7 separate regions of the Homo sapiens genome follow, and regions 1, 2, 3, 5, 6 and 7 are each linked to region 4. Evidence: promoter capture Hi-C in 16 types of primary human blood cells and fetal thymus (Javierre and others, 2016). All regions are on one chromosome and are shown on one strand. Each heading gives the region's core, a stretch centred on a gene start or on the middle of the fragment in contact. The rest is flanking DNA. Distances are from core to core; before and after follow the strand shown. Region 1 overlaps PTPN1 (protein tyrosine phosphatase non-receptor type 1). Region 2 has its middle 15 kb from the start of PTPN1. Region 3 overlaps PTPN1 (protein tyrosine phosphatase non-receptor type 1). Region 4 holds the start of CEBPB (CCAAT enhancer binding protein beta). Region 5 overlaps PTPN1 (protein tyrosine phosphatase non-receptor type 1). Region 6 overlaps PTPN1 (protein tyrosine phosphatase non-receptor type 1). Region 7 has its middle 47 kb from the start of PTPN1.

The links. Contacts are between HindIII fragments. The CHiCAGO score rates a contact against its expected background, and 5 or more counts as called.
Region 1: a fragment that was not itself captured here is called in contact with the fragment with the promoter of CEBPB in region 4 in 3 of 17 cell types (naive CD4 T cells, naive CD8 T cells and monocytes); the score reaches 6.7 in naive CD4 T cells.
Region 2: a fragment that was not itself captured here is called in contact with the fragment with the promoter of CEBPB in region 4 in 3 of 17 cell types (neutrophils, monocytes and naive CD4 T cells); the score reaches 10.7 in neutrophils.
Region 3: a fragment that was not itself captured here is called in contact with the fragment with the promoter of CEBPB in region 4 in 3 of 17 cell types (monocytes, neutrophils and fetal thymus); the score reaches 8.2 in monocytes.
Region 5: a fragment that was not itself captured here is called in contact with the fragment with the promoter of CEBPB in region 4 in 1 of 17 cell types (monocytes); the score reaches 9.3 in monocytes.
Region 6: a fragment that was not itself captured here is called in contact with the fragment with the promoter of CEBPB in region 4 in 2 of 17 cell types (monocytes and total CD4 T cells); the score reaches 6.3 in monocytes.
Region 7: a fragment that was not itself captured here is called in contact with the fragment with the promoter of CEBPB in region 4 in 17 of 17 cell types (neutrophils, monocytes, total CD8 T cells and 14 more); the score reaches 31.7 in neutrophils.

Annotation. Positions count from the first base shown.
Region 1 is chr20:50,568,187-50,572,014 of GRCh38, forward strand. It overlaps PTPN1 (protein tyrosine phosphatase non-receptor type 1), which reads left to right. Exons shown (of 10, transcript NM_002827.4): 4 at 194-292. Among named protein-coding and RNA genes, the nearest start is that of MIR645, 16 kb to the right of the region's middle. The HindIII fragment of the contact is 9,665 bases long and covers 1-3,828 here.
Region 2 is chr20:50,493,189-50,497,566 of GRCh38, forward strand. No RefSeq gene overlaps it. Among named protein-coding and RNA genes, the nearest start is that of PTPN1, 15 kb to the right of the region's middle. The HindIII fragment of the contact is 8,989 bases long and covers 1-4,378 here.
Region 3 is chr20:50,514,563-50,518,406 of GRCh38, forward strand. The region is part of intron 1 of PTPN1 (protein tyrosine phosphatase non-receptor type 1); the gene reads left to right. Among named protein-coding and RNA genes, the nearest start is that of PTPN1, 6.1 kb to the left of the region's middle. The HindIII fragment of the contact is 809 bases long and covers 1,431-2,239 here.
Region 4 is chr20:50,188,011-50,192,142 of GRCh38, forward strand. It overlaps CEBPB (CCAAT enhancer binding protein beta), which reads left to right and starts at 2,820. Exons shown (of 1, transcript NM_005194.4): 1 at 2,820-4,132. The coding sequence starts at 3,024. The coding sequence ends at 4,061. CEBPB-AS1 (CEBPB antisense RNA 1) reads right to left here and starts at 4,059. Exons shown (of 7, transcript NR_125739.1): 1 at 3,654-4,059; 2 at 3,258-3,412; 3 at 1,988-2,275; 4 at 1,446-1,551; 5 at 533-617. RefSeq lists silencers at 2,353-2,762, 2,722-3,016, 2,843-3,052, 3,193-3,632, 4,053-4,132. The HindIII fragment of the contact is 16,423 bases long and covers 1-4,132 here.
Region 5 is chr20:50,531,442-50,535,698 of GRCh38, forward strand. The region is part of intron 1 of PTPN1 (protein tyrosine phosphatase non-receptor type 1); the gene reads left to right. Among named protein-coding and RNA genes, the nearest start is that of PTPN1, 23 kb to the left of the region's middle. The HindIII fragment of the contact is 608 bases long and covers 2,410-3,017 here.
Region 6 is chr20:50,549,055-50,553,342 of GRCh38, forward strand. All of the region lies in intron 1 of PTPN1 (protein tyrosine phosphatase non-receptor type 1), which reads left to right. Among named protein-coding and RNA genes, the nearest start is that of MIR645, 35 kb to the right of the region's middle. The HindIII fragment of the contact is 850 bases long and covers 1,598-2,447 here.
Region 7 is chr20:50,461,623-50,465,496 of GRCh38, forward strand. No RefSeq gene overlaps it. Among named protein-coding and RNA genes, the nearest start is that of PTPN1, 47 kb to the right of the region's middle. The HindIII fragment of the contact is 1,375 bases long and covers 1,082-2,456 here.

The DNA of each region.
Region 1 (3,828 bases), core at 164-2,663, 380 kb after region 4:
GCCTGGTAGAAAATGGAGCTGCAGTTACTGACCACCAGGCAGAGAGAGGTGGGTCCCTGTCCCAGCCTCAGCCACCACTCTGCCTAAGCTGTGGGGACTGAGGGCGCTGTCGTTAGCTGACTGCAGAAGGTGAGCACACGCTGTAGCATGTTATGTTTCAGATGTCACATGTTGTGTTATTGTGTCTTTGCAGGGCCCTTTGCCTAACACATGCGGTCACTTTTGGGAGATGGTGTGGGAGCAGAAAAGCAGGGGTGTCGTCATGCTCAACAGAGTGATGGAGAAAGGTTCGGTAAGTCTCGGCTTCATTTGCTGTGTATGTGATCATGCATACCACTCCATATAGTTACCATTTTCGTCCAGATTTTTAAATTATTTTTCTTGCCTTTGTATTTCCTTTACGTAGTATTTTTATTTAAAAAAATTAAAACAGCAGCATATAAATGCATGTTGGTTGTCAACCAGTTAATGAAGTGAATAAAAGGGAGGAGGCGGAAGAACTGCACGGACCTCTTCGCCCCCGCCTTCTCCTGTGTGGTGCGTGTGGCGCTCCGCCCACCTGTGCTGCCTGTGCGGCTCTCATCACAGTGTGGAGTTGTGTGTGGAGTTATGGAGACCTGCTTTTATCTTGAAAAGCAAGTTCTTAGTGCATCTTCATGGTGTCTGATTTTTTGGCTGGTGAGAGTGTGGCTACCTCTGCGGAGCTGTGGGAGCGGCTGACTAGATGAGATTTGCCTCCATTCAGTACCTAGACTCTTGCCCTGCCACACCTCTTCGGAGTGAGCATTGACTTCAGGATGTGTGTCATTCTAAGTTCCTGCAACTTTTCAAACACCCCTCGGGCTAGCGTGTGGCTGCACGGTGTCCATTTGTGCAGGCCACCACTCCTCTTGCATCTGGGTCTAGCCACCTCTCCTTCTTGACTTACCATAGTTCATTTTGTACCATGCTTTCAGAATGAGCTTTCTCAAATCCAAGTCTCACCACGGTTCTTCCCAGCTGAAAACCCTTGTGCGGTTCCCTTTGCCTCACAGGATAATACATGGTGTGGCTTACGGAACCCTGCAGGTCTGGCCCTAGGCCCCTGGACACAGACCTCTCACCACTCTTGGAACTTTAGCCAGGACAAAGTTTTCTGTTTTTAGTTTCTTACCATGTTCTCTGGGCCGAGGAGTCCCAGTGCCCACGTTCATCCCACTTGCAGGCACCCCTGGACGGCTGCCCCCAGCTCCCCAACTGCCTGCATTCTCCCCTGCCCTCCTCACTCTGTTGGAATAGCTGAGAATAGCCGATTTCTGGGCAGCCGGCCTCCTGTGTAGACTGTCCTGTGTAGACTGTCCTGTGTAGATTGTCTGTGTAGACTGTCCTGTGTAGATTGTCTGTGTAGACTGTCCTGTGTAGACTGTCCATGTAAACTGTCCTGTGTAGATTGTCTGTGTAGACTGTCCTGTGTAGACTGTCCTGTGTAGATTGTCTGTGTAGACTGTCTCTGTAGACCGTCGTGTATAGACTGTCCTGTGTAGACTGTCTCTGTAGACCGTCGTGTATAGACTGTCCTGTGTAGACTGTCTCTGTAGACCGTCCTGTGTAGATTGTCTGTGTAGACCATCCTGTGTAGACCATCCCATTTAGACCATCTGCCTGTGCAGGCGCAGGCCAGTGTTCAGCAGGGCCACAGGCTCCTCGGCCTCCCTGCCCTCGCTGCTCCCCAACACTGCCAACCCTGCTGCGGGGTCCAGGAGGAGATGGGCTGAGGATCGTGGAGACCAGCAGGAGCGTGTGGCCCAGGAGCAGGGAACTGGGTGTCCTTGGGCCTTGCCAGGTCCAGGCTCAGCTAGGACACGGCTCTCACAGCTGTCCTGGTTGCCTCCGGCCACAGAAGAAGGTGAGGGCTCCAGAGAGGCCACCTTTCCAAAAAAAGCACAGTCATGGCCCTAGAATGTAAAAAATCCAAGTGTTAAGAAGGAACACATCAAAGGAAACTTCAGCAGTGAAAACTTGAAGCATTAACCACGAAGCCTCTGCCTCCACCACACACAAAGAAACGGCTTTAGTTACTCGCAGAAAGTCTTCCTCTTAGGACAGCGCGTGTTTAAAATCATAGGGGTTTGGTTTGTTTTGTTTTGGGGTTGGGGTTTTTTGGGGGTTTTTTACCCTTGCCTACTTTTTAAAAAATGAAAGTGTTTATTTGCCCAACAATAACAGACAGGGAGCTTGCCTAAGTGTTCTGTTGATGATATAATGTATCTTGTCTTAGAAAAAAACTTTTTCAGTGAAAGGTGGTTTTTAAATTTTTTCTTCCCTCCTTAGTAGCTTGATTAGTAAAATGTGAAGTTACAAATGTGAAGCAAACCCCCACCCTTCACCACTAGTCAGCAATTTTGAGTAAAGAAACAAAGCATCAGGTGCTCACAGCACACACTGTCTTAGAGGGAAGGGGAAGCCTGGTGGCCTGTGGAAGCCTTCAGCATAGCTCCATCTGCAGGCTTCTGACCCTCAGCACTACTGACACTTGGGCTGGATCATTGTCTGCTAGGGATCCGGGCAGGGAGTGGCTGTGCTGGGCGCTGTAGGAAGTTTAGCAGCATCTCTGGCCTCTATCCACCAGATGCCAGTAGCACCCCCTCCCCAGATGTGGCAGTCAGATGTGTTTCTGTCTAGACTCCAGACTTTGTCCAACGTCCCCTGGTAGGCCAAATTGCCCCCGGTTGAGAACCACCGCTCTAGATGGTATTGAGGGTTGGGAATTTTAAATCAAGACATTTATTCAGAAATTACCAGATATAGTAGCATTTGCTTCTTATTTATTTCTTTGTTGCTAAGTGTTTGGCAAAACCTCTTTGCTGTGAGCACAAGGTTTGCTTTAGCAATTGTTGTCACATTACAGCAAGGAGTGGTGTCCAGCGCTGTAGTTATGTATTTGAGCAGTGTCCAGTGCTGTAGTTATGTGTTCCAGCCTCACCAGGCCCTGTGCTTCATTGTCTCCCACTCAAGACTGACCACAAATGGCCCACAGATCCACTGTGACAACCTTTCCCTTTGGGTTACTGTGGTGGCATCGAGAACATGGCTGGTTGGCTTTGCTGTAGTTTACTGTGATAACTGTGCCAGCAGTCCCTGCTTTCCTTTGTTAAGTATCCCATTCCACTGGAGGATTACTTGGGCGTGCAGATTGGCATGAAAAGCAATGTATGGTTTGAGATTGTTAAAGTTTCTTTGGGATCAACATTTTCAATTCTGTATCAGCATTATCCCTCCCAGAGGGCTGGCTGGGAGAAATCATGAGAAGTTACAGTATCTTATTTGCTCAGCTAATCTAATTATAAATGATCCACACAGCTTGTGGTAAAACCAGCTTTTGGGGAGTTTTCATTTAATGCATACTTGTCTTCTGATTTCCTTCCTTCACCAAATAGTGTAGGATGCTCCCTCTTATTTTTGGCAAACATGCCTGTTATCTTTTGGGACCCTGGGCTTCCTGGAAACCAGTTATGCAGAAGATGATTGTGTGTGTTAGACTGGGGTCATCCAGATGGCTAGAGTTCTCACTGGTTCTGTTTAAGGATTGACTTTAGACACCTCAGTGTAGGCTGCACCATGGCGTAAGGGTTGGGATTGTTGTTTAGAAGGGGGAAGTAAGCAAGGTGAGTTTAATTGGCCATTGCAGAATCTCACCCGTATCTCCCTCCTGAAATCCTCACTAAAGCTGCCGTTTGCTTTCAGGTGCTTTCATGCACAAGACACTGCATTTTGTATCACAGGGTCCATATAATTCATTTTTCTCTCGTACTTAGTTCTCTGTGTTAAGAATTACTTACTTAGTTCTCT
Region 2 (4,378 bases), core at 1,461-3,960, 310 kb after region 4:
CTCACCTGGTATTTCATAAAGTGCTACTTATGAGACCCACAAGAAAGATTAAGCCTCATGTGAACAGGCTGATGGGAAATCCACACAGAAAATATTTTGATAAGTTCTAAAGCAGCACCACATGCTTTAGAAGGTCATGCCAAAGGCAGTCCAATGGGGTCATCCCAGTGCATCCTAAGGACCACCAGCTCCAGCAGGAGAATTAGGTAAAAGGGCAAGGAGAACAGCACACAGGGTCACAGAGACCCTGGCTCCACCACCAGCTCGCTCTGTAACCCTGTGGGAGTGAGTTGAGGGAGTGCGTTGCTTCTCCCTCTGAGCCTCAGTTGCCTCATTTGTCAAACAAGCATTCACTTCTCAGGGCTGATGTGAACTTTAACTGAGGTGACACATGTCTAACTGGTTCAGGGGTACGTCTCAACTTGTTGAGGTGTAACTACGAAACCACTTTATTTTTACAATAATTGCTACCAAATGGTCTCTGTTGAAATTTCCTTTTTCCCTCTGGGGAATGATCAGAATAACAGAGTAGTGGTAGTAGAGGCAGGAGCAGAGGTAGCGGCAAGCTCCCAGGTGGCCCCGCCTCTGTGCCAGGCACTTGCCTAAGCTCTTGGCATATATTACTCACCAAATCTTCACAATGAGCTTCTGAGGTAGGGACCAATAGTTATCTCCATTTTACAGAAATAGAGAAAAAAGAACTTAAATGAGTTGCCCAAAGTCACGGAGCTATTAAAGAATGGGCTTCCTCAACCAGCCTCTCAACAATTCCATAGCATGCCTGACTGACTCTTTGGTTACCAAAGCTGTCTATTTCAGGTCTTAAAACCCAAATCTCCTCCAATTAGAATGTCAGTCTCAACCAGTGAAGCACAACGAGACCCAGTCTCATGGTCATGATGTCGAACAAACGAAGACAGACACCAAAAAGCATGCACGGCATGATTCCATTTATGTGAAGTTCAAAAACAGGCAAAAGCAATCCAGGGTGTTAGCAGGATAGTGGTCACCCTTGGCAAAGGGTAGTGACTAGGAGGGTTACTAGGTAGCTTTCTGAGGGGCTGGGAGAGTTCTGTATCTTGATCTGGGTGCAGGTTATGTGAGCATGTTTAGTCTGGGGAAATTCACTGAGCCGTGCACTTATGATATATCTGTGTGCATGTACACACATATACTTTTCTGTATGTGTTTTATAGTTCAATATAAATTTCCTTGGAAAAAACTTCATTCTCAGATCTGATTCAAAGTTCTTTTAGATCCCCTGGCCCCATGTCACCCAGTTCAAGCCAGACTCATGATTCTAGTGGCTTGGAGCTGGGACAATGGGTAGGGGGAGCAGGAGAAGCAAGACGTGCTCTCTTTCCCCTTCTCCTTGACGCCCACGGTAGAATGGGCATAAGGATGGGCTGCCATTCTGCTGAAATGGCTCCACAGCGAGCCGTGAAGGAAGGTGGCTGACCCCAACTGCTGAATGACCTTTGAACTTAGGCCAAGAGACTCAGAGCACCCCTAACATCATCCTGTTGCACATGTAAAGTGCCTAGCACAAAGCAGGTGTGTAATGGGGGGGGAGGTGCTAGATGGAGATGCAATATTTTTGATATCTTGAGGACTAAAAGTCGGGATGATCTGCTCTTTCAAATATGCCAGAAATTTTTGGATTCATAATCAGTTGAATAATTGATTTCTATTTGAAGCCTTTTAGTTAGACAAAAGGAAAAGTGATAAGTCTGCCATCTTCATCTGAGTTCCTCCAGAAGCCAACTCTGAGACAAGGATTTAAATGCAAGTAATTTATTCCTGAGGAGATCCTTGGAGGCAGCAGGTGAGGAGTGGGGAAGTGACCACGAAGTTTCTGATTTAGGACAGTGGTGAAAAGTTGATGCAGGTGGCTTCTAAAAGATCTTGACTTCCAAGGCAACTAGGGCTCTGGGGAAGGAATATGGCTGAACTTCAGACCCATAGGGCTACAGGAAGATAGAGACAGAAGACAAAGACCATGTACCAGTTAGCATGCTCTCAACTGCAAGTAGCAAGCCAATCCAAAGTGGCTTAAACAGTAAAAATGCTCCTGATGTCTTCAAATAATGTCTTCAAATAATGTCTGGGAAGGGACATGAATGAGCATGTGGGCCAGTGGGGCTCAAACCCACCCATGTAAGGGCCATGCCTCCACATTGCCATACCTGAGAAGCAAGGAGCTGGGGTATTTATCTCTTTCGCACTTTGGGAGGCTGAGCGGGCGAATCACCTGAGGTCAGGAGTTCAAGACCAGCCTGGCCAACATGGTGAACCCTGTCTCTACTAAAAATACAAAAAGTTAGCTGGGCGTAGTGGCACATGCCTGTAATCCCAGCTACTTGGGAGGCTGAGGCAGGAGAATCACTTGATCCCAGGAAACAGAGCTTGCAAAGAGCCAAGATTGTGCCACTCCAGCCTGGGCAACAGAGTGAGACTCTGTCACCAAAAAAAAAAAAAAAAAAAAAATTGATAAAAAGAGAAAGAGAGAGACAGAGACCTCAGAAAGACAGAGTGAAAGGGAGGGGTTAGAATAAAGGGAGGATGAAGATCGAGATGAAGTGACAGAGAGACCTAAGAACTTGTGAAAATGTGCTTACCAAAATGTGAGCAGTGGCCAGGCGCGGTGGCTCACGCCTGTCATCCCAGCACTTTGGGAGGCCGAGGTGGGCAGATCACAAGGTCAGGAGATCGAGACCGTCCTGGCTAACACGGCGAAACCCCGTCTCTACTAAAAATACAAAAAAAAAATTAGCCGGGCATGGTGGCGGGCGCCTGTAGTCCCAGCTACTCGGTAGGCTGAGGCAGGAGAATGGCGTGAACCCGTGAGGCAGAGCTTGCAGTGAGCCGAGATCGCACCACTGCACTCCAGCCTGAGGGACAGAGTGAGACTCCGTCTCAAACAAAAACAAAACAAAACAAAAAACACACACACAACACGTGAGCAGTGACCAGCACAGGTAGTAAGAGTTAAAAGTAAGTTGTGGGCCAGGCGCAGTGGCTCACGCCTGTAATCCCAGCACTTTGCGAGGCCGAGACAGGCAGATCATCTGAGGTCGGGATTTCGAGACCAGCCTGACCAACATGGAGAAACCCTGTCTCTACTAAAAATACAAAATTATCCAGGCATGGTGGTGCGTGCCTGTAATCCCAGCTGCTAGGGAGGCTGAGGCAGGAGAATTGCTTGAACCTGGGAGGCAGAGGTTGCGGTGAGCCAAGATCGCTCCATTGCACTCCAGCCTGGGTAGCAAGAGTGAAACTCCGTTTAAAAAAAAAAAAAAAAAGTAAGTTGTGTCTCTTTTATATGCACTTTTCAAGTTTTCTTCATTAAATGAGTATTCCTTTTGTGATAAGAAAAAGAAATAAGAACAACAAAAATGTCCTACCTCCAATGCTAGAACTTCCAGCTCTGCGTGTGAAAACACCCACTTTAAATTGCTTCTCTCTTTAGTTCAACCATGTTTCTTGAAATGGTTTGAATACAGGCAGAGTTTCCTTCTCTCCCTCCTTCCTTCTTTTTCCTTTTTTTTAAAGGAGACCAAAGTCAGAGTTGCCTCAGTGCTGACCCAACATTGAGGCTGAAAGTGGGTACAATAAGGGTAATTTAAGAAGGCAGGGATTAACAGCTGCTTTGGAAATGACAATTGGGTTAACCTCTTCTTCATTCTCACTCTCTCTCTCTCTCTCTCTGCAAGAACCATCTTGCCCTAGAGGAATGCAGGAAGGCAGTGGGGAGGGAAAATGACTCTGTTTAGGGAGGTGATAAAATGGGATGTGATGATTAATTCTTCATATATTTATTTGACAAGCATTCAGGGAGCACCTCTTCTCGCCCAGGTCCTGGGCTAGGCCCTGGGGACATAGCAAGATGAATACTACAGGATCCACGACTGTGAGGGCTGAGAGAGACACACGTGCAGATTGCTAAGACCAATATGAGAGGATCATTCCATACCCAAACACAGAGTTGCATGAAGGCCGAGGTTCTGCTTTCACCCCACCAGATACCAATTTCGCTCCTGAAATGAAGAAGTAAGGAGTGACCAGAGAGAATCTTATTTAGCAGGCAGTGATGATAAGTTAATACAGGTAGTTTCCAAAAGATCTTGACTTCCAAACAACTGGTGCTCTGGGGAAGGAATGTGTCTAAACATGAGACCCATAGGGCTAAAGGAAGGTAGAGACAGAAGACAAAGACCCTGTATCAGTTAGCATGCTCTCAGCTGCAGGTAACAAAAAAACCAACCCAAAGTGGCTTAAGTAGTAAAAATGTTTATGATGTCTTCAAATAAGTCCAGAGCTAGGCAGTCCCAGGGACAATTCGATAACTCAGTGATGTCAAGGACCTAAGTGCTTTTTA
Region 3 (3,844 bases), core at 585-3,084, 330 kb after region 4:
GCTGTGTTGCCCAGGTTGGTCTTGAACTCCTGGCTTCAAGCGATCCTCCCACCTTGGCCTCCTGAAGTTGGGATTGCAGGCGTGAGCAGGTACTTTTTCTGAGGCCTGCCTGAGCCTATATATATTTTGCACAATTTGGCATTCCTCCCTACAGTGTTTATGCTGATTTGTTTCTGGTAACAACTAATACTGGCAAATCGGCTGGGCATGTTACTTTATGCTGCCCATATTCAGGAAAATTGGAATTCTAGCTGGGTCATTGTTCCCAGATGATGTAGTTTGGCACCAGCCATTCCATGTTCACATTTTGAGTATCCAGGAGGGCTGGGGACTTTGGAGTAGTTGGTGATTCCCTCTGCCACATTTCACTGGTTGGTCACTATGGCATCCTTTCCACCACACTAGTAGTCTAGGTTCTCAGATGTTGCTTATGAGCCTGCAATGGTTTCTAGTTTCACACTGCAGAAATGAGTGAAGCCGGTTACCCGTTAATATGGTCCCATCATCACTAGAGTAATTCATTGTTCTAAAACCAGATCTGAGTCTCTCACTCCTCTGCAACTACTTCTGATTCTTTCATAACACTTGTAAAGTCCAAACTCCTCTTTAGCATGGCAGCCAGCTTCCAGTCCTTCCCTCCTATGTGGCTTCCATTCTAGCCAGACAAGAAAGGGCAGCGTTCTCCAAACTCATCCTCGCCCTTCATTCCTCTATACCATTGCTGAGCACTTTGTTGAGGATGCCTCTCCCGTTCAATCTAGCTTGCATCTTCCAGCTCGAATGTGTGCTTCCTTGCACCAGAGTTTTGTTCCGTCACCTGTGTGTTTTCATACAAGCTGGCACATATCTCTTCTAAAGCCCTGCTGTCATTGTAGCTGCGTCTTTACAAACATTTTTTTTTTAAATTTTTATAAAGTCAAGGTCTCACTATATTGCCCAGGCTGGTCTCAAACTCCTGGGCTCAAGTGATCCTCCTGCCTTGGCCTCCCAGAGTGCTGGGATTATAGGTATGAGACACTGTGCCCAGCTGTAGCTGCTACTTTATATCCCAGGTCTATCTCCAATGGAGCCCAAGCTTCCTGAGGCCACCTGTTGTATCTTTCTCATTCATCTTGAAGTCCTCTGCTCCTGGCACAGAGTAGGTACCTAACAAGAGTTGGGATTGAATTGATGGTCAGTACTTTGCTAGCCTGATGGTATAAAGATGTACAAAACATGTTCCTGGCTCCCACTCTAGGGGGGCAATGATGGAAACAAATAGATTAGCCCACATTAGTACCAATAGTAGAGGTCACTCTGGGAGAAGGCCCCCACCACATTTTGAGTCATGGCCTAATGAGGTAATTTAGTATTGCCTGCTGCAGTGGCTTTGGAAGAAAGGCTGGCATTCTTAGCCAGTAGAAGCTGATACCACTGATTTGTTTCACAGAAGCTTTAAATATAACAATAAATTTGTGCTTGGCCTACGGTGAACTTTACAGGCAACTTGGAGGTAATATGTTTGTCTCTCTAAGAATTGTTGAATTCCTCTTCCCTCATCCCTCCTGACTGGTTCTCACAAGCCTAGCGGGCCTTTGCATGTGGTTGGTTCATAAAATACTTTTTGATTTTGGGATATAAAATATAGTTCTCCATAAAATAACGACTGTTACCAAGTCTTTGATTTTTTTTTTCAAACTATAAATGGTAATGACATTCTTTGGCCTTTGATCAGACCACCCTTAGGGGCAAGAGAGTAGTTTCATGTTTTGCTTTTTCTAGTGTCCCCTGTGTCTGGGTATAGTTGCAGTCTCAGCTGTCATACTAACAGTGCTGAGTGAGTCCCTTACTTTCTTTGGGTTTTGGTTTCTCCCTTGTAAAAATGATCCTGGACTAACTGATCATTAAGTTCAGGTCAAGTAATAAAAATCCTTAATGTACTCACAAATACAATTTAATGTTCCTGAATAATCCTTGTAAAAACTGCAGCAGTTACTCAGTTTTGTAAGGTGTGGTTGGGTACTATTAGGCTCAAAAGTTTATAGGAGCTTTGTGAGTATAGTTAACAACTCAAAAGAATGGGGTGTTTTTTCCCGAGGGGCATGAAATGTTTTTGATAAATAGAGTTCATTTGACTTGGTAATGTGGAAAATGAGTAGCCCTGACACGTACGCTATGCTTTTGCAGTTTTTCTCTCAAGTAGCAATTGGGTGGCTTTTCCTGTAAAAGATAGAGGAACTGATTCTTGAGAATTTACGAAAGCTTCAACCCTAACTAGGTATGCAAAGAATAGTTGCCCTTTATGTTGTAATTTTAGGAAGAAACCTACATCTGGTCTAAGTTTCATTTGAATAATATGATAGTTTACACATCTGCCATATTTGAGAAGAAAGTACCTAAGTCTCCAGCATTTTAGAAATAATGCTTTACTTTGTGTAGAAATGGTCTTTAGAGTTTAATAGCTGCTGCCCTCTCCTTTTTCAAAGCAGCTTGACATAATCATGAGTATCTTGCTGACAGCTTGTAAATTTTGATTGTATGAAAACTGAAAATAAGACCATTTCACATGGAAGATTCCCTCCTGCCCTGAAACAGCCAAAGAAAACTGTAGCCATCAAATCTATTGATCTCTGGGCTTTGGTACAAGTCACACTACTACAAATAAAATAATACCAAGTACTTATAAATGATTTTCAGTCCTTTTAAAGTTTATTTTTTTAATATTTTTTTTGAGATGGGGTCTTGCTGTGTCGTCCAGGCTGGAGTGCAGTGGCACAATCTTGGCTCACTGCAACCTCCACCTCCTGGGCTCAAGTGATCCTCCCACCTCAGGCTCCCAAGTAGCTGAGACTACAGGCATGTGCCATCACGCCCAGCTAATTTTTGTATTTTTTTGGAGTAGAGATGGGATTTTGCTGTGTTGCCCAGGCTGGTCTTGAACTCCTGGGCTTAAGCCATCTGTCTGCCTCAGGCTCCCAAAGTGTTGGGATTACAGGTGTGAGCCACTGTGCCCGGCCCAGCCCTTTTTTTAAGAGAAAAACGTATGACATCGTTCGATTTACTGAGTGCTTATGGTTTTACTAAGGCAGTAAGGTTTTATGGATACCCTATGGTAATTAGATAGAATTAGTGCTCTGAAGTCAGCTCTGTAATATGGACTCAGAGTAAACATGGCAAAGGGACACTTAAGGTCTGCATTTTCTCTGGGAAATAAACGTATTCTTTACTACTCTGAATCTAGTGCTGGGAAATTCTAAATCCTTCTTGAGGATTAACCACTTGAAGTAAAGTTTTGGGTCCCAAGTAGGCTTGTGTCCCTGTCTCCTTCTCTTTACTTTTCAGATGTTTCTTCCTAGAGACTGAGGTATATTTTACTTTTACAGATGAAGAAGGAAGCCTCGGCTGTGTTTGTGGCTTTTGTGGGTGAGCAACATCACTTGCAAAGATAAGATGAGCATAGCAAAACTAGGCTTTCAAAATAATTTTTAAAAATTTCTTAGTGATTAGAAAAGGAAAACTCTTCCCTTGTCTCTGTTAAGAAACGTTTTTCGACTTTTTTCCTTTCTTAATGGATCTTTTATTGGCACTTCTCTTCCTTTTGCAGAATCTTACTTAAAAGTCACTACGTTACATTACAGCAAACAGCTTAGCTAATTTTTATCCAGATGGGCCCCGGTTACAGGATTGTACACTATTGCGAATTTCTTACAGGAAAGTGAACATCAAGTAATTATTCCAAATAGAGTTCTCTTAAGAACGTGAGTTACTTAAAAATGTCTAAGGATGAAGTCACTTCTGAATATAACTTCACTCAAGAGAACAAATAAGCAAACTGCATTTAGCATAACATGGTAAATTAGCTTTA
Region 4 (4,132 bases), core at 1,570-4,069:
TTCTCATCCTTTCATGTGACCTGGAGCAGACACACTTAGCTCTTCTGGGCCTCAGTTTCCTCATCTATAAAGTGGAGATAATGATAAGACTGTGGCCTGGCGCAGCGGCTCACACCTGTAATCTCAGCACTTTGGGAGGCTGAGGCAAGAGGGCCACTTGAGGCCAGGCGTTCGAGAAAAGCCTGAGCAACAGAGTGAGACATATCCATCTCTACAAAACATTGAAAAATATGAAAAAAGAAGAAGAAAAAAGACCTGCCTCCTACAAATTATCAGTAGGATTAAATGAGTTAATACATGCAAAGAGCTTGGAATGTGGTTCAGAGAAGGTGGAAGTTTGGCCTAAGAACACACAGCAAATCCTCCAATTAGCTTCAGTTCCCCCATATCTCCCTGCATCTCTTCAGAATCCAGAAAGGGAACGTGGGCGAGTGCTTTGGTTCAGAGAGGGGAGCCATTTTGCCTAAGGTCACACAGCCCAGCTAACGAGGAACCTCTCCTTCTTCTCAGCCTCCTCCATTTATTCACTCACCATTCATCGAGCACCTTCTATGTACCAGGCTCTGTTCTAGGCACCAGGGACACAGTAGTGAAGGCCGTGGGGACAGACAGCAAGACTGGCAGGCAAGATAATTCTGATTATAATGAGAATGGTGACGGAAATGAAGCAGGGGTGTGAGAGGAGTGACTGAGGGCCTAGACTTCCCATGGGAAGGTCAGGGAGGGTTTCCCGGAGGAGGCAGCTTTTGGGCTGAGACCTGAGGAGCTGCCTTGGGCAGAGGTGGGGTGACAGTGTTCTTGGTGCACAGGGAACAGCAAATGCATTCCTTCACTGGTAAATGTTGAGCGTGCTGTGCTCAGGAGTCCCTCGTGGGCCAGCCCTCCCCAAGTGGCAGCCTGCAGGGAGACTGAGGTAGACAGCTAGGATAATGGTGGCTGGCGATAGGGAAGGAAATTCACTAGCAGGTGGGACAGGGAGGGCCTCTCAGAAGCCGTGGCCTCTAGCTCAGCCCTGAGTGTCCCATTTTGCAGTGAGGAAGGGCTGGCCGGGTGGCCCTAGGGAAGCTGCCGCACCCCTCTGGGCCTTGATCCCTCCCCAACCCAGAGGCTGCTGGGAAGACCCAGAAAGCCAGCAGGCTGGGCCAGTGTTTTATCCCCTCCCTCCCTGCCTCCTACCCACCAAGGGTGCCCAGAGATGTCATTTCTCCAGCTCTTGGGGGCGGAGGTCACCCCAGCTCAGCAGATAACACCAAAGGTTGAGCAATGCCCGCCTGCCCGCTGGGGCCAGGGCTGGGGTCAGTGGGCTGGGGATCAGCCCCGGGCAGGCTGGGAGCTCCTGCCTAGGTGGCCTGGGCTAGGAGTGGCAGAGAGGTGGGCCCAGGGAGCTGCCCCAATGGCCTAGGAATGGGTCCGGGAGGGCAAAGGGCCCTCTAACCTGAGCCTACCCAGCAGAGGCGGGCAAGTGGTCAGAAGGCCTTGGGCCTGTGTTCAAGTCCAGGCGGGCCGTTGTCGCTTTCCCGTCTGTGAAATGGCAGCAGCAAAAGCATCTTCCTGGTGGGGTGAAAAAAGTTGAACCTCGGGGTGCAGGCCCACCGTAAGCACAGGGCAGGGACTTGGTAAAAACTTATCTTTCTCTTTCCTTCTCTTTCCTGCATACCACCCCCTCCCGTGAGGCCTCGCTTAAGTCCCTCCCTAGCAACTTCAGAAACAGAAGTTTTTGGCCTCTGGGACTGGCAATAGGTCTTAGGGCTCAGATGAGGGCATTTCATTTGGGATGAATGGGGGACATGCGGCCATGTGACCTTGGTATGCCACGCCATGCTCTCTCTGGGCCTCCACTGGCACAATCCGTGGGGGTCCCGTTCTCTCTGATGTGCAGCCCACAACGTAAGCCTTAGGTTTGGGAGTCTGGTGGGAACAATGCCACCACCACTGACAGTAGCGACACCCTTCATGGATTGCAGCTGGGAGAAGTGAAGTGACTCACCCAAGGTCACACAGTGTGGCAGGGCCGAGCACCCCCCGCCCCTGCCCCATCCCAGGGCCCAGGTCGGGTGGCGCAGCGCGGGGCAAGAGAAGACCCGGGCGTGTCCAAGCCTCGAGCAGGCGGCAGGTGTGGTGGGCGGGGCTAGGGGCGGGGCTCCGTGGACCAGGGTCCAGCCCCAAGCGGGGCGCGATCCTGCCCGGTCGCGCCGACCCCCGGGGTCCTCATATTGTCTGTGGCTTAAGAGGGGAGTCGTCACAGGCGTCAAGTCTTCTTTCTAAAGCCGGGGACCTGGGGAGGAGGTGGGAGTTTACGGGAGGAAGGGCCACGGAGATGGGTCGCTTCTCCTGGAGCTAGAGCTGCGGGCTGGGGTCTCCAGGGTTCGGCCCGGGGAGCCGACCCTGGTCGGCCGTCGGGGCTCTGCTCGGCCCTCCTGAAACCTCCGCCTCCTCCAGCAGGGGGCGGGCCGGGGCCGCGTCTCGGGGGGAAGGCGATCAGGTCGCCCCCTCCTCCGATTCCCCCGCCTTCCAGGACAGCCTCCAGCCCAGAGGGGCGGTCCGGGGGCGGGGTCGCACCGCCCCCTCTCGCTCCCAATCCCGGGGCGGCCGGGCGGGGGTGGGCAGGGGGCGTGAGGCCGCCCCTGCGTCCCGGGGGCCCCCCGAAAACGCGCTCCGGGTGCCCGGTCCCTCCGCTGCGCCCTGCCGCCGTCCTCCCGGGGGTCTCGGGCGGCCGCGGCCGTGTCCTTCGCGTCCCGGCGGCGCGGCGGGAGGGGCCGGCGTGACGCAGCGGTTGCTACGGGCCGCCCTTATAAATAACCGGGCTCAGGAGAAACTTTAGCGAGTCAGAGCCGCGCACGGGACTGGGAAGGGGACCCACCCGAGGGTCCAGCCACCAGCCCCCTCACTAATAGCGGCCACCCCGGCAGCGGCGGCAGCAGCAGCAGCGACGCAGCGGCGACAGCTCAGAGCAGGGAGGCCGCGCCACCTGCGGGCCGGCCGGAGCGGGCAGCCCCAGGCCCCCTCCCCGGGCACCCGCGTTCATGCAACGCCTGGTGGCCTGGGACCCAGCATGTCTCCCCCTGCCGCCGCCGCCGCCTGCCTTTAAATCCATGGAAGTGGCCAACTTCTACTACGAGGCGGACTGCTTGGCTGCTGCGTACGGCGGCAAGGCGGCCCCCGCGGCGCCCCCCGCGGCCAGACCCGGGCCGCGCCCCCCCGCCGGCGAGCTGGGCAGCATCGGCGACCACGAGCGCGCCATCGACTTCAGCCCGTACCTGGAGCCGCTGGGCGCGCCGCAGGCCCCGGCGCCCGCCACGGCCACGGACACCTTCGAGGCGGCTCCGCCCGCGCCCGCCCCCGCGCCCGCCTCCTCCGGGCAGCACCACGACTTCCTCTCCGACCTCTTCTCCGACGACTACGGGGGCAAGAACTGCAAGAAGCCGGCCGAGTACGGCTACGTGAGCCTGGGGCGCCTGGGGGCCGCCAAGGGCGCGCTGCACCCCGGCTGCTTCGCGCCCCTGCACCCACCGCCCCCGCCGCCGCCGCCGCCCGCCGAGCTCAAGGCGGAGCCGGGCTTCGAGCCCGCGGACTGCAAGCGGAAGGAGGAGGCCGGGGCGCCGGGCGGCGGCGCAGGCATGGCGGCGGGCTTCCCGTACGCGCTGCGCGCTTACCTCGGCTACCAGGCGGTGCCGAGCGGCAGCAGCGGGAGCCTCTCCACGTCCTCCTCGTCCAGCCCGCCCGGCACGCCGAGCCCCGCTGACGCCAAGGCGCCCCCGACCGCCTGCTACGCGGGGGCCGCGCCGGCGCCCTCGCAGGTCAAGAGCAAGGCCAAGAAGACCGTGGACAAGCACAGCGACGAGTACAAGATCCGGCGCGAGCGCAACAACATCGCCGTGCGCAAGAGCCGCGACAAGGCCAAGATGCGCAACCTGGAGACGCAGCACAAGGTCCTGGAGCTCACGGCCGAGAACGAGCGGCTGCAGAAGAAGGTGGAGCAGCTGTCGCGCGAGCTCAGCACCCTGCGGAACTTGTTCAAGCAGCTGCCCGAGCCCCTGCTCGCCTCCTCCGGCCACTGCTAGCGCGGCCCCCGCGCGCGTCCCCCTGCCGGCCGGGGCTGAGACTCCGGGGAGCGCCCGCGCCCGCGCCCTCG
Region 5 (4,257 bases), core at 1,464-3,963, 340 kb after region 4:
TCTCAGCTCACTGCAACCTCCGCCTCCCGAGTTCAAGCTATTCTCCTGCCTCAGCCTCCTTAGTAGCTGGGATTTCAGGCTCCCGCCACCATGCCCAGCTAATTTTTGTATTTTTGGTAGAAACGGGGTTTCACCATGTTGGCCAGGCTGGTCTCAAACTCCTGACCTCAGGTGATCTGTCTGCCTCAGCCTCCCAAAGTGCTGGGATTACAGGCGTGAGCCACTGTGCCTGGCAGGGAGTCTTATAGAAGCTGTCGTGGACAATGTGGGAAGTAGTGAGCCTTTGTATTCCAGTATGCTGGGCTCCACTGTGCTTGCTCTGGCCCCCGGTCGCTCTCTGTGTGTTATTGAGTCCCCATCCACGGCCATACTCTTCGTCCTGCTTCTCTCCTTACCATCCTCTCCCCGCTAGTGGTACCACGGCTACCACTAGCAATTACTGACATGTGGGATCTTAGGGCTACTTCCCTATAAGGCTGCAGGGCATGTGGTGTTGGCTACGCGCATGGTAACCATGGTAGCCCTGTGGTTCTCCACATGTGCGCCTTGTGACCTGGGATTGGCTGCAGACTAGTAATAAACTGCGTCTTCTGGTATGGAATCTGTCTGTAGTTGTACTTTCTACCTCTGTATTTAAGGGGAGATCTGTAACCTACCAATGCCAGTTGAAGAGGATGGATGATAGAGATGTTAACAAACAGCTGAAAAACTAACTACAATGGCCTGCAAAATAGAACAGCAGGTTTTTGTGGCAAAACTTTGTGTCCATGAGTTTGTTTTTTAAATATCCTCATATAATCTGTTTTAAATCGAGAGGCTTTGGGTAAAAGCCATGGCTAGTCTTACATGTCATGGAGTACCTAGCTTGTGAGGTTCACAGTTTATTATTTACAGAGTGTCCCCTTAAATCTTCTTTGGGTCGGTTCAGCGAATGTTGCTCAGATGGACTTTTTTGGCTGACATAGAGTCAAAATGGTAATCAAGCATGAAAGTACAGACAGTCCTTAACGCACAAATGTGTCATGCTTGAAAAGTTGGAAAGTTGGTTCTCTGGAGCTCTGATTGTATTGTCCTGTAGAATCCGTGTTGTGAATGGTGGTTAAATCCCAAATGAGTCCGTAGAACCTATATAATCTGCAATATACCTGCAGTATTCCAATTAATATGTAATTCCCCCATAGAACTATGTTAATGATTTGTATGTATGGTATTTAATATTATACATAATAATGATTGTATGAATAAAAAACATTCTGGGCTCCATGTGGATGATGGGGTGTGTGTGTGTGTCTGTCTATGTGTGGGTGGGTGTGTGTTCATAGATCCCTTTTCCTGCAATCCTGGCACTGGAATTGGTTTTATCATTTCCAATTAAGTTTCATTCCCATGAATTTTGGAGTACAGACTGGGTCCAGGTATGCAGGGCATAGATTAGAGCCCTGAGAAATAGGATTAGGCTGGAATTGCTGGGTTGGAGATCAGTAGCTTCCAGGAACACTTTTTGGGCCTGGCTGTCTTCATTATCCCCTTTTGTTTTCTCCTGGGGTCTGCAGGTATTGCCCTGTTTTGTTCCTCTAATATCACTTTTTTTTTTTTTCTGCTTTTGACCAGGGTTTTTGCCTCTGGTCTACAACTGAATATCCTATCAGACTCTCCTGATTTTGAAATAAATATATAGTTTTTTTGAGGTGTTCTAGCGAATTTCTAAATCTAAATGTTGTGGCAGAGTTATTACATACTAATTTTGCTATGAGAGGTTGTAGAATCCCAGATGACTAATCTTGTAAACCATACACGCATTTCCATCTAATTCTCCATTGTATATCATGTTGCAGAAAATAACAGCCTCTAGAGTTTACATTGCCTCCTTTGACTATATTTCTTATTTAAGATTAGTTTTCAGATAAGACCTTTTCATGGCAGTACATAACTGTACAGAGGGCTTCCAACTTGTCTTGGGAGCTCTCATCTCTGGGAGACATCACATTACCCACTGCCCCCTGCCCCCCGCCCCCAGCCTGGATGCACTCAGCCTGTACCCCATTTCTGTCCTCAGCCAAACACTGCTGAAATGCAAGAGCTTTCAATTGCTAGCCAGTGAAGATGCAGACTAAGGGATTTCCATGTAGAAGCCCGCTCTTTTCAGCTGGCTCGTCGAGAGCTGGAGGCCCCTTGCTTGTTCACATGAGGCTTTTTGTCCCTGACTTGGTGGCTGCTGTTTCACTTCTCAGCAGAAAGGGACACCCTTGCCCCCCCCCAGAAAGGAAGATTTGATGTACCACTTCCGAAAGGTTCAGTCGGGCATCACTGTAACCAAGAAGATAGGTCAGGTGAGGCTGGAGGTGGAACAGGGCTGCTCGCTAGAACTCCAGATTGTTCCACAAGTGCCTTCTGGCAGAGAATGATGGAAGCTTCCGTGATTTTTTTTTCTCCTTAATAGTTATGAGCACAGAAGAGGAGCAGATTGTCTGGCTATAGAAGCTGTCTTATTTTTTATTTTTGTTTTTGAGATGGAGTCTTTCTCTCTTGCCCAGGCTAAAGTGCAATGGCGCGATCTCGGCTCACTGCAACCTCCGCCTCCCGAGTTCAAGCGATTCTCCTGCCTCAGCCTCCTGAGTAGCTGGGAATTACAGGCATGCGCCACCATGCCAGACTGATTTTTGTATTAGAGACAGGGTTTCACCATGTTGGTCAGTCTGGTTTCGAACTCCTGACCTCAAGATCTGCCCACCTCAGCCTCCCAAAGTGTTGGGATTACAGGTGTTAGCCACTGCACCCGGCCGAAGCTGTCATATTAAATAGCACTTTCTGCTTTTAGCAAATTTAATCCAAATGAGACTTTAGATTTTCTTGCTCTGACTTACCAGCAGTTCCTTGAAACACATTTAATTATTTTTGCCAGAAAATCACTCAAGCACTTACGCCATTTTTTTACCGTGAAAATATGCTGCATTATTTTAAAATATATTAGAAGTCAGTAACCATAAGATTTTATATGTTTTCTAATGTATTCTGTAAGCTTTCTGCTGCTTTTGTTTGGAAGGTGTATTTTGTAACGTAGAGGACTGCTTTATCTGCTTGTAAGCTTGATTTTTGTTTTTACTGTAATTTTTTTTTCTTTTGCTGTATTGAGAAATACATTGAGTAATTATAAAGTCAGTGGCATGTTTATAAGTTAATATTTGTATCTATTCCTTAGTTACTCTAACTCAAAACCTAAAGTAATCTTCAACTCTAATTTACTCTGACATCCAGTTGACTGCCAAGTCCTCCAACTTAATCCTTATCCTTTTTTTTTTAAAGAGATGCAGTCTTGCTTTGTCACCCAGGCTGGAGTGCAGTGGTGCAATCATAGCTTACTGTAACCTCAAATTCCTGGGCTCAAATGATCCTCCCACGTCAGCCTCTGGAGTAGCTGGGGCTACAGGCTCTTGCTACCATGCCCAGCTAACTTTTTATTTTTATTTTTTATAGAGACAGAGTCTCACTGTTGCTCAGGCTGGCCTTGAACTCCTGCCTTCAGGCGGAACTCCTGCCTTCAGGCGGTCCTCCTGCATTGGCCTCCCAAAGTGCTGGAATTACAGGCCCAATTTTATTCTTGGGATGTATGTCTGAAACTCTTTCCTTCACTTCCTTCCCAAGCCTTAGTTCAGGCCCTTCTCATCTGTGGTCTTCAAAGTCGCCTTCAGCTGGTTCAGGTCCTTCCTTTCTGCTGTATCTTTCATGGGAGGACATGTTATGTATCACTGTCCTACTTGAAAACTTCCATTCCCCATTGATGAGGGTGTTACCTCCAGATTCCTAACACAGGTGCTGAAGGCATGCCTGGATAAAGGCACTCCCTTGATCTCCTGGCCAGGTCCCCGTACACCTGCAGCGCATGCTCCACATTCTGTCTTTACTGATGCTGTGTCTTCTGCCTGCGGAGCCACCCACCATTCTATTCACAGCCCCTGCCTCAGCGGAGCACGTGCCTCCCTCTTCCTACACTGAGCTGTCCTTTCTATTGAATCCCCTCTTTTTTGTAGTATGGGAAATATTTTATTATGAATACTCTTTTCTCTGTTGCCTCCGTGACCACGTTAACTTTGCCCTAATTCGCCTTAGGACTCCATCTGCTTAGGGGAAAGTTAGGATTTGGTTACAGAAAGCAAGCTGCTAGAAAGAACAGTGTTTAGCTTCTGACAGGCAAAATAGGATTTTGCAACATGCTTTTCCTTTTTAATGCTTAGACATTTTATATGAATTAATATTTTT
Region 6 (4,288 bases), core at 773-3,272, 360 kb after region 4:
CAATAAATTGCATATGGAATGGATTTTTGTTCTAGTTGATTTGTTGGTTATCATTTGTAGAACTAACTAGTTGTCTTCTGTGTTTGATACCTTGCTTCTAGGTCATTTTGAGTTGGGAGCCTTTTGTTTTGTTTTTATTCTCATGCTGTTTTTGAGCCTAGCTGTGCCTTTATGGTTTTCTCTAAATTTAATTGACCATTGTTTTATATTTGGAGCAGTGGGTGTACATCAGAGTGTGAAAGCAGCCCCACCCTCTCCACCAGAAGGTCTCCATGCCAGTTTCACGAAGCATTTTTCATGCCCTCATTCCTGCCCTTATCCCTTGATTTGTGGGGAGTTTGTAAAGCAGTTGATTGTTTTTTTTCCACGTAGTTTTCCAAGTGCACATAATTGTTCTGTTAGTGACTTGTAGCTCCATTATCTATTAACCTTGCCCCAGACCACTGTACAAGCGGACCCAACGCTTCCTCCAGCTGTGGCAGGGACAGTTACTTGGTATCCTGCTGCCTTTTCAATGCTGACCAGTTTTGCCCCTTCCTCCCCTCAACCCCTGTCTTTCATTCAACTATCACCAAACCAAAAGATTCTGGTTTGCTTTTTAGTATGTGTTCTTATTCAGTACATAGTCATTTTAAAATTTAAACCAAAACAGACTTGGTACTGATTAGCTTAATTTTAAGCTTTTTCTTTATTATTAAACAGTGTAGTTTATCTTAGCATTTCATATTAAGTATATGATTTATTTCATATTGCTTATATGAATGTACACATAAATATAATAAAAATATTTTCCTAAGGTTTTTGTAGTAAATTATATCGTTTCATTAACTTTCATATATAGCATTGCTTTTGACCTGGAAGACATTGAACCTCTGATGATTTGTATATTCCTCGGAGTATACTTTGTTACATAGAAATTTTCTCATTTATAATGAGATTTGTGATTAACAAAATTTGTTCAACATGCATTACTTTGAAGATCTGGTTTCTAAAATTTTATGCTAGTTACCCCACCCCCCCTTCTATATATATCTCCCTATTCAGCGACTACTGCAAGAGTTCCAGGAAATGTACACTGTGTGTTCACTTACTGCATTTTAAATCATTGCCTTTACTATATTTCTGCATTTCCCTTCAATCTAGCTCTGTCTGTACATTTCTGAAAGCCAGTAGCTTCCCTGAAGAACCAGGTAACAACCCGAACAATCAAATTAGATAACCATTTGTAGAATGGAGGTTCCGGGAGATCTTAGAAGATGTGATGGGTGCTAAGGGACTTTGTAGTTCCCTGAAGTTCCAGTGAGTAAAAGGTACCCTTGGAATTTTTTATTCCTTCAGACTTTTAAAACAGAGATCACTTTCAAAAATTACTCTTTCTGCTTTGAATCCATGTTTTAGTAACTATTTTGACACTGTTTGGTCAGAAGGCTGTGTGGGTCAACTGCAAATAAATAAAATAAATGTGATTTCAGTAATTTCCATTTTGTAACAAGTAATTGAGAAAATAGGATTGGATCAGATATTTGCTTATACACATTCCCTTTCAGGAGCACTTCTGTTCTATAAAGAATGTTGGTATATTGTTAAGGACACTTCAAGCTTTGGGAACCTTTGAAGTATCCATTGATTCAGTTAACAAAATTATGTTGAGTGCCTACCCTGGGCCTGGGCCTGTGTTAGGAGGGGACACTAAGATGAGAGTCCAAAGCACTTCTTCTCAGACTCCTGGCTGCTAATGGGTTGCTGCCTCTACTTCTTCACTTAGCAGATAGCTTTAAAATGAGTAATGCATTTTACCATGGAGCCCGTAAGAGACATTCACCCAGTTGTGGACCGAGGAGAAGGGTGTTAAACCCAGATTGTGATGTTTCACTTGATGAAGTGCTTAATATAAACATGGAAATATTTCCGCAAGGATAAACTGGCTTTTATGCCTGTGTGTTTTCAGGAGAAATAGAAATCTCTAATCAAATATTGCCAGCTTTTCACCCAAGTTTGACTTTTTGCCTAATTGAGTTTGGGAGGTGTCTGAATAATGGATAATGAGCTTTCCTGAATAAATATAAAAATTAATTAACTCCAGGCTCTAATTCATTCTGTTACCAGAGTTTTGTAAGCATGTTACCCCTTTGTGTTCATTGGGAGATCATCTGTTACCTTCTTAAATGAGTGGGGAAGGATGGGAAATGAGGAAGAGCTATAAAAACTATTCAGGTGAAGAAGGTTTCTGCCCCTCCTTGCCCCTTTTAAAATCTCCAGCTCAGCAGATGCTTTGTTTAAACTTGATCAAGTGCTTGTGAATCTTCCTAGCCTAGCTAAATCATAACTTTGGAAGGACTTGCTTTTTTCTCTCATGACAATGGTTTACCACAGAAATGATTCAGATCACTTTGTGTGCCTGATGCCTATGTAAAATGATACAGTGAAATGGAAACCATTTACCTGTAAGCTTTGGGCACACCCAAGCCTGCTTCAGGAGCACATGATCAGGCGTGCACTCTGGGAGAGCCGTACACATTTGACATCTATGATGTGTGGCGTTTTATTCTATCACATTTCTGAAATCTACACTAAGAGAAAGGAGGCTCTTAAAAAACCACTGAGGTGTGGACTGGGGGAAGGAGAGATCCGTAAAGAACCTGTTTGTTACCTGTTGATACTATTTCCCATTGGTAAAATTTCTAATTTAGTGTGATCCAGCCCTGAAATGCTGAGGCACACACTGAATGACTCCTGACATCTTTAGTGTTTTTGTTCAGGGGACTCTTCTGGGAATCTGTTTCATGGCAAGTTTATTATTCCCTTTTGGTTTGGCTCATCAGTTTACCCAGCAGTCATCTTAATCGGTTTTAAAGGCTTTTATTTTATTTTGTTTTCTCTGTGGAAATTTTACACATTCAGTAGATTAGAAGTAGTTATTTAATCTTTGGTTAGCATAATAAAAGATCTTCTAGGGACATTTTTTGCTTGCAGTGGAAGGCTAGTTAAATGTGTTCATTAGTCATGAATCTGCTTTTTCTATAGCTGTTGGAAACGTAGCTCCCCTGTGATACAGTTGTAGAATACAGAAATCTCGTTTTGCTGTTACGGTACGGTAGTCTACTTACTTTCTTCCAAACCATTAATGTTATAGTTACCTTTAATTGCGTAGGTCCTATCACCCCTCAATTTTAAGACTCTAAGCCTGGCATTTTATCTTACAAAATGAAATATAAAGACTTGTACTCAGAGTATGTGTGTGTTTTCCATATACCATTCTAAAGTAGAGAAAGATGAGGGATTCGCCAGAAACTGATTTCTAATAAATTATCCAGAAACTGACCCCTTCTCACCTCTTCTGTTACTGTCACTGTGGTTTCAGCCACAGCATCCTTTGCTGCATTGTTACCTTAGTTTCCTGACTGTATCCTTCCTTACACCATTGATCCCTGCAATCCCATCTGCGCGTAGCAGCCAGAAGGGATCCACTTACTGCTGTGATCAGAAATCCTCAGCCAGGTGCAGTGGCTCATGCCTGTAATCTCAGCACTATGGGAGGCTGAGACTGGAGAATTATTTGAGCCCAGGAGTTTGAGACCAGCCTCAAACTGGGTAATATAATGAGACCTCATCTCTACAAACAGGAAAAAAAAAATTTTTTTTTTTTTTTTAACTAGCCAGGTATAGTGCTAATATACCTGTTCTGGGATCCAGCATGCTCTCCCTGACCTGCAGCTTCATCTCCACCACTTTGCCCCTCACTCCCACCACAATGGCTTTCTTCTCTTCCTCAGACATGCCGTGCGTCCTCCTACCTGGAATATTCCCCTCCAAACATTCCCATGGCTCACTCCCTCACCTTCATCAGATCTCTGTTCCAGTGTCACTTTTACTGGAAGGTCTTTTGTGACCATCCTACTTATTATAAAAAAATAATCTGCCCAACCTTCTCCTTTTATTTCCTCTACTTGATTTTTCAATTTAGTACTTATCAGCTGACATATATTTTGTCTCTCTGTCTCTCTCTGTCTCTCATAGAAGGTAAATTCTATAAAGGAAGGAATTTTTATGTTTGGTTCTTTGCTGTAGCTCCAATATTCAAAACAGTGCCTGACACACAGTAGGCCCTTTATATTTGTTGAATAAATGTTGACACTCTGATATCTAATTTTTGTCTGGTGACTAATACGAAAACTATAGAGTGATAATAAAAGCATTACCTTAGTAGACTGGAAAGGGATGAGCGCTAGGATGAACTTTCTGCCTGGCGATCTTGCTGAATTTAGGAGGCAGATTGGGGTTCAAAGGA
Region 7 (3,874 bases), core at 519-3,018, 270 kb after region 4:
CGCGCAGAGAGAGAGAGAGAATCTTGGTTGTTAACCAGCCTGGAGTGAACACGACTCACTGCAGCCTCCACCTCCTAAGCTCAAGCAATCCTCCCACCTCAACCTTCCAAGTAGTTGGGACTACAGGCACCTGCCATCATATTTAGTAGAGACAGGGTTTTACCATGTTGCCCAGACTGGTTTCAAACTCCTGGACTCAAGTGATCCTCCAACCTTGGCCTCCTAAAGTACTTGGATTACAGGTGTGAGCCACTGCACCCGGCCTGATATATCTATATTTTAAAAATATGTACTTTCATAACATGTATGAGAAACAAATACCTCATTTTCTTAGTATATAAAAATCCCTAGCAGATCAACAAAAAGACAATTATCCAAGAGAAAAATAGACTAACAATTTGAATGCTTTGCCACCAGAAAAGAAATATAAACAGTCTTTGAACGTATTTTTTAAATGTCCAATCTAACATATAAACAATGAATATGTAGATTAGAACTATGGTGAACACCTTTTTCCCCTATCGGCAAGGCCAAGATCAAGAAGTCCAATCATACTTGGCCTTGGCTAGGACGTGGGGAAACCAGAGCTCACGGAGGTTGCCGGTGCAAATGACGATTGGTAGGTACAACCTTAGAGAGCATTTAGACAACCAGCGTCAAAATGTTTAAACGCACCTGCCCTATGACTGGGCGATTCAGTTGCTAAGAATGTATCCATCAGAAATAGCTCTGAATACATGGAAAGACTTCTGTGAAAGGGATACTAATTGCAGCATTGTTTGTTGCAGAAAAACCCTGGAAATACCTCCGTGACTATCACCAGAAAACTTGTTAGATAAATTATTATATTCAGACAATGGAATGTGCAAAGAATGCTCTCCTAGTGCTGATCTGGAAAGATCTGCCAAGGTACATTGCTAAGTTGAAAAAAACAAAATCCCAGTGCAGAACAGGGTGTGTGGTGTGCTTCTATTTAGAGAAATGAGTACAGGAATCCACGCACATATTTGCTTATCTGTGTTCTGGATGTCTCTGTAATGATCCCCAAGAAATGATAACCAGAATGGATTCTGGGGAGGGAAGCTTGGAGTTTTAAAGCTGGGGATGGGGGTTAAGGATTAGAGGGAGAAGACCCACTGTAAATCTTTTGGTATCTTTTGAATTTTTGCATATGAATACAATCCCTTGTTAGTTTTTAAAAATGGAACTTTTTAATGCATTGATAGATGACAGAGAGAAAAATGCCTTGAAGGATATGCTCCAACGTGTCAATAGCACTTATCTCTGGGTGGCTGATGTGAATTAGAAGCGACTTTTATTTTGTTCTTTTTTTATTATTTCTCTAATCAATTATTTATTTTGAGACAAGATCTTGCTCTATCACCCAGGCTGGAGTGCAGTGATGCGATCACCACTCATTGAAACCTCTGCCTCCTGGGCTTAAGTGATCCTCCCAGCTTAGCCTCCTGAGTGGCTGGGACTATAGGCACTTGCCACCATGCCTGGCTGATTTTTTATTTTTAATTAAATTTTTTTTTGTAAAGACGAAGTCTCACTAAGTTGCCCAAGCTGGTTTTGAACTCCTGGGCTCAAACGATCCCTCTGTTTCAGCTTCCCAAAGTGCTAGGATTACAGGTGTGAGCCACTGTGCCCGGTCTGTTCTTTTTAAAAAATACAGAGACAGGGTCTCACTTTGTCACCTAGGCTAGAGTACAGTGGCATAATCATAGCACCCTGCAGCCTTGATCTTCTAGGCTCAAGTGATCCTCCAGCTTCAGCCTCCCAAGTAGCTGGGACCACAGGCATGCACCACCACTTCTGGCTATATTTTGTTCTTTTTACTTAGATTTTCTAATTTAAAAAAATAATTACCAGCCGGGTGTGGTGGCCCATGCCTGTAAATCCTAGCACTCTAGGAGGCCGAGGCAGGAGGATCATTTGAGCCCAGGAGTTTGAGACCAGCCTGGGCAACATAGTGAAACCGCGTCTTTACTAAAAATACAAAAAAAAAAAAAAATTAGCTGGGTGTGGTGGTGCTCACCTGTAGTCCCAGCTACTCAGAAGGCTGAGGCAGGAGAATCACTTGAACCTGGGAGGCAGAGGTTACAGTGAGCCCAGATCACACCACTGCACTCCAGCCTGGGCAACAGAGCGAGACTCCGTCTTAAAATAAAATAAAATAAAATAAAATAAATAATTATCAAGGTATATTCAGATAATTTTTTTAAAAATTAAGTAAGTAAACACCTCAGTGTTCTCTTGGTAGTCAGGGGAAAACTAACTTCTACATGAAAAAAAGAAAAGACCAAAAACACATACACTTCTCTAAACAGGCAGATTATTTTCATTGCCAAGGACATTACAGAGACTGAGGAGTGGGTTGGAAATATATTCTATGAAAAATCGAGAATTAATACAACTGTCCTACCATGCACTTTCTGGGCATCAAAACGCCAAGCTTCTAACTCAGACCTGAGTTCAAACTCTGACTGCCACTTACTAGCTGGGCAAGTTGCTCCTACGCCGTTGGCCTCAGTTTCCTCATCTGTAGTCTGAGACCACATTGCTGCTGGCAGGCTCGAGTGAGATCATGCCTGTGAAGTACTTGGCTCAGGCGTACTCAGAGACCCAGTTCAAACAGGGAACAGGCAGAAATTCTGCACCCCGCAAGGGTGACAGGGCGGAGGGAGGACAGGAGGGGCCGCTTTGCCGGACTGGGGATCAGTGTGCAACTAGCTGGGCCCGGAGTCCCCCACAAACCGGCCAGCTCAGAGGTTCTTCCGACAGTTTGGAGAGAGTGACACCAAGTGGCCAAGTCTGAAACTACACCTTCAAGCCGGAGGGTTAGAGCCTCTCCCCGACCCCTCCAGCTGCGGTCCTGAGCCAGGCACTGAACTTCCCTGAATCTGAGTTTTTTCAGCTGCGAAATGGAGGTAATCCTGCCTACCTGGCAGAGCGGAGGTGGGAATTAAATGAGGTAACCCGCAGAGATTCTCTCCAGGACCGCCATGTTGCACAACTTCAGGGGCCCCATTCATGAAACTGTGCAACATAGCGGCACCCCTAACAGGTGGCTGTCATTATCATCCCTCCCTCAGACACTGAGTTTCCTTCTCTACTCCCCTAGAGCGATTCTGAAGCTGGGTCTTCCAAAGTATAGAACAAATACCAGTGGGATTCGTGGGGAGATCTTGGTGGGCACAGCACCCCAGTATCAAATAACATTTCATTCTCTGTCAATCATTCTGATGGCATCTAGGCGGCAGTCTCAGTTTGATAGGAACATGACATTAACGCCTTTCTAACACTTACCTGCCTCCCTTCCGAACTTTCTGTTTGAGAGTGGGCCTCAGACTTAGTGCCTTCAGAAGGCAAAATTATTTGGCTAGAATTTAATAAAGTTACATGTTTTCATAATATTTACTTTTTGTGGTCACCTTCTATTGAGAGCAAGTGGTGCTGGTTTTCCCTTTACAGTAGATGTGGTAGATTGTATTATTGTCAAAGTATTTATCCCATTGGCAATTCCCTGGTGACCCTCCCGGCTGAAGTCAGGCTTGGCTGTGTGACTTCCTTTGGGCAACAGAGTGTGAGCTAAGCTTTCGAGAAGCGGCTTTGTCATGTGGTTTATCTCTGCTGTGAGAATGGCCTGCCCCAGGAATGGGCTGCACCTTTAACCTGGATCAGAGTAAAGATGACATACGGCCCAGAGCTGCAGTGACCCACAACCAACAAGTAATGAGAAAATAACTGAGGATTCATATTCTCAATATGAATAAGAAATCGACCTTTGTCATTAACAAGCTCCTGAGATGCTGGGGCTGTTTGTTATTGCAGTAAAACATAGCTCGAGTTGGCTGATGCAGTAGAGTTA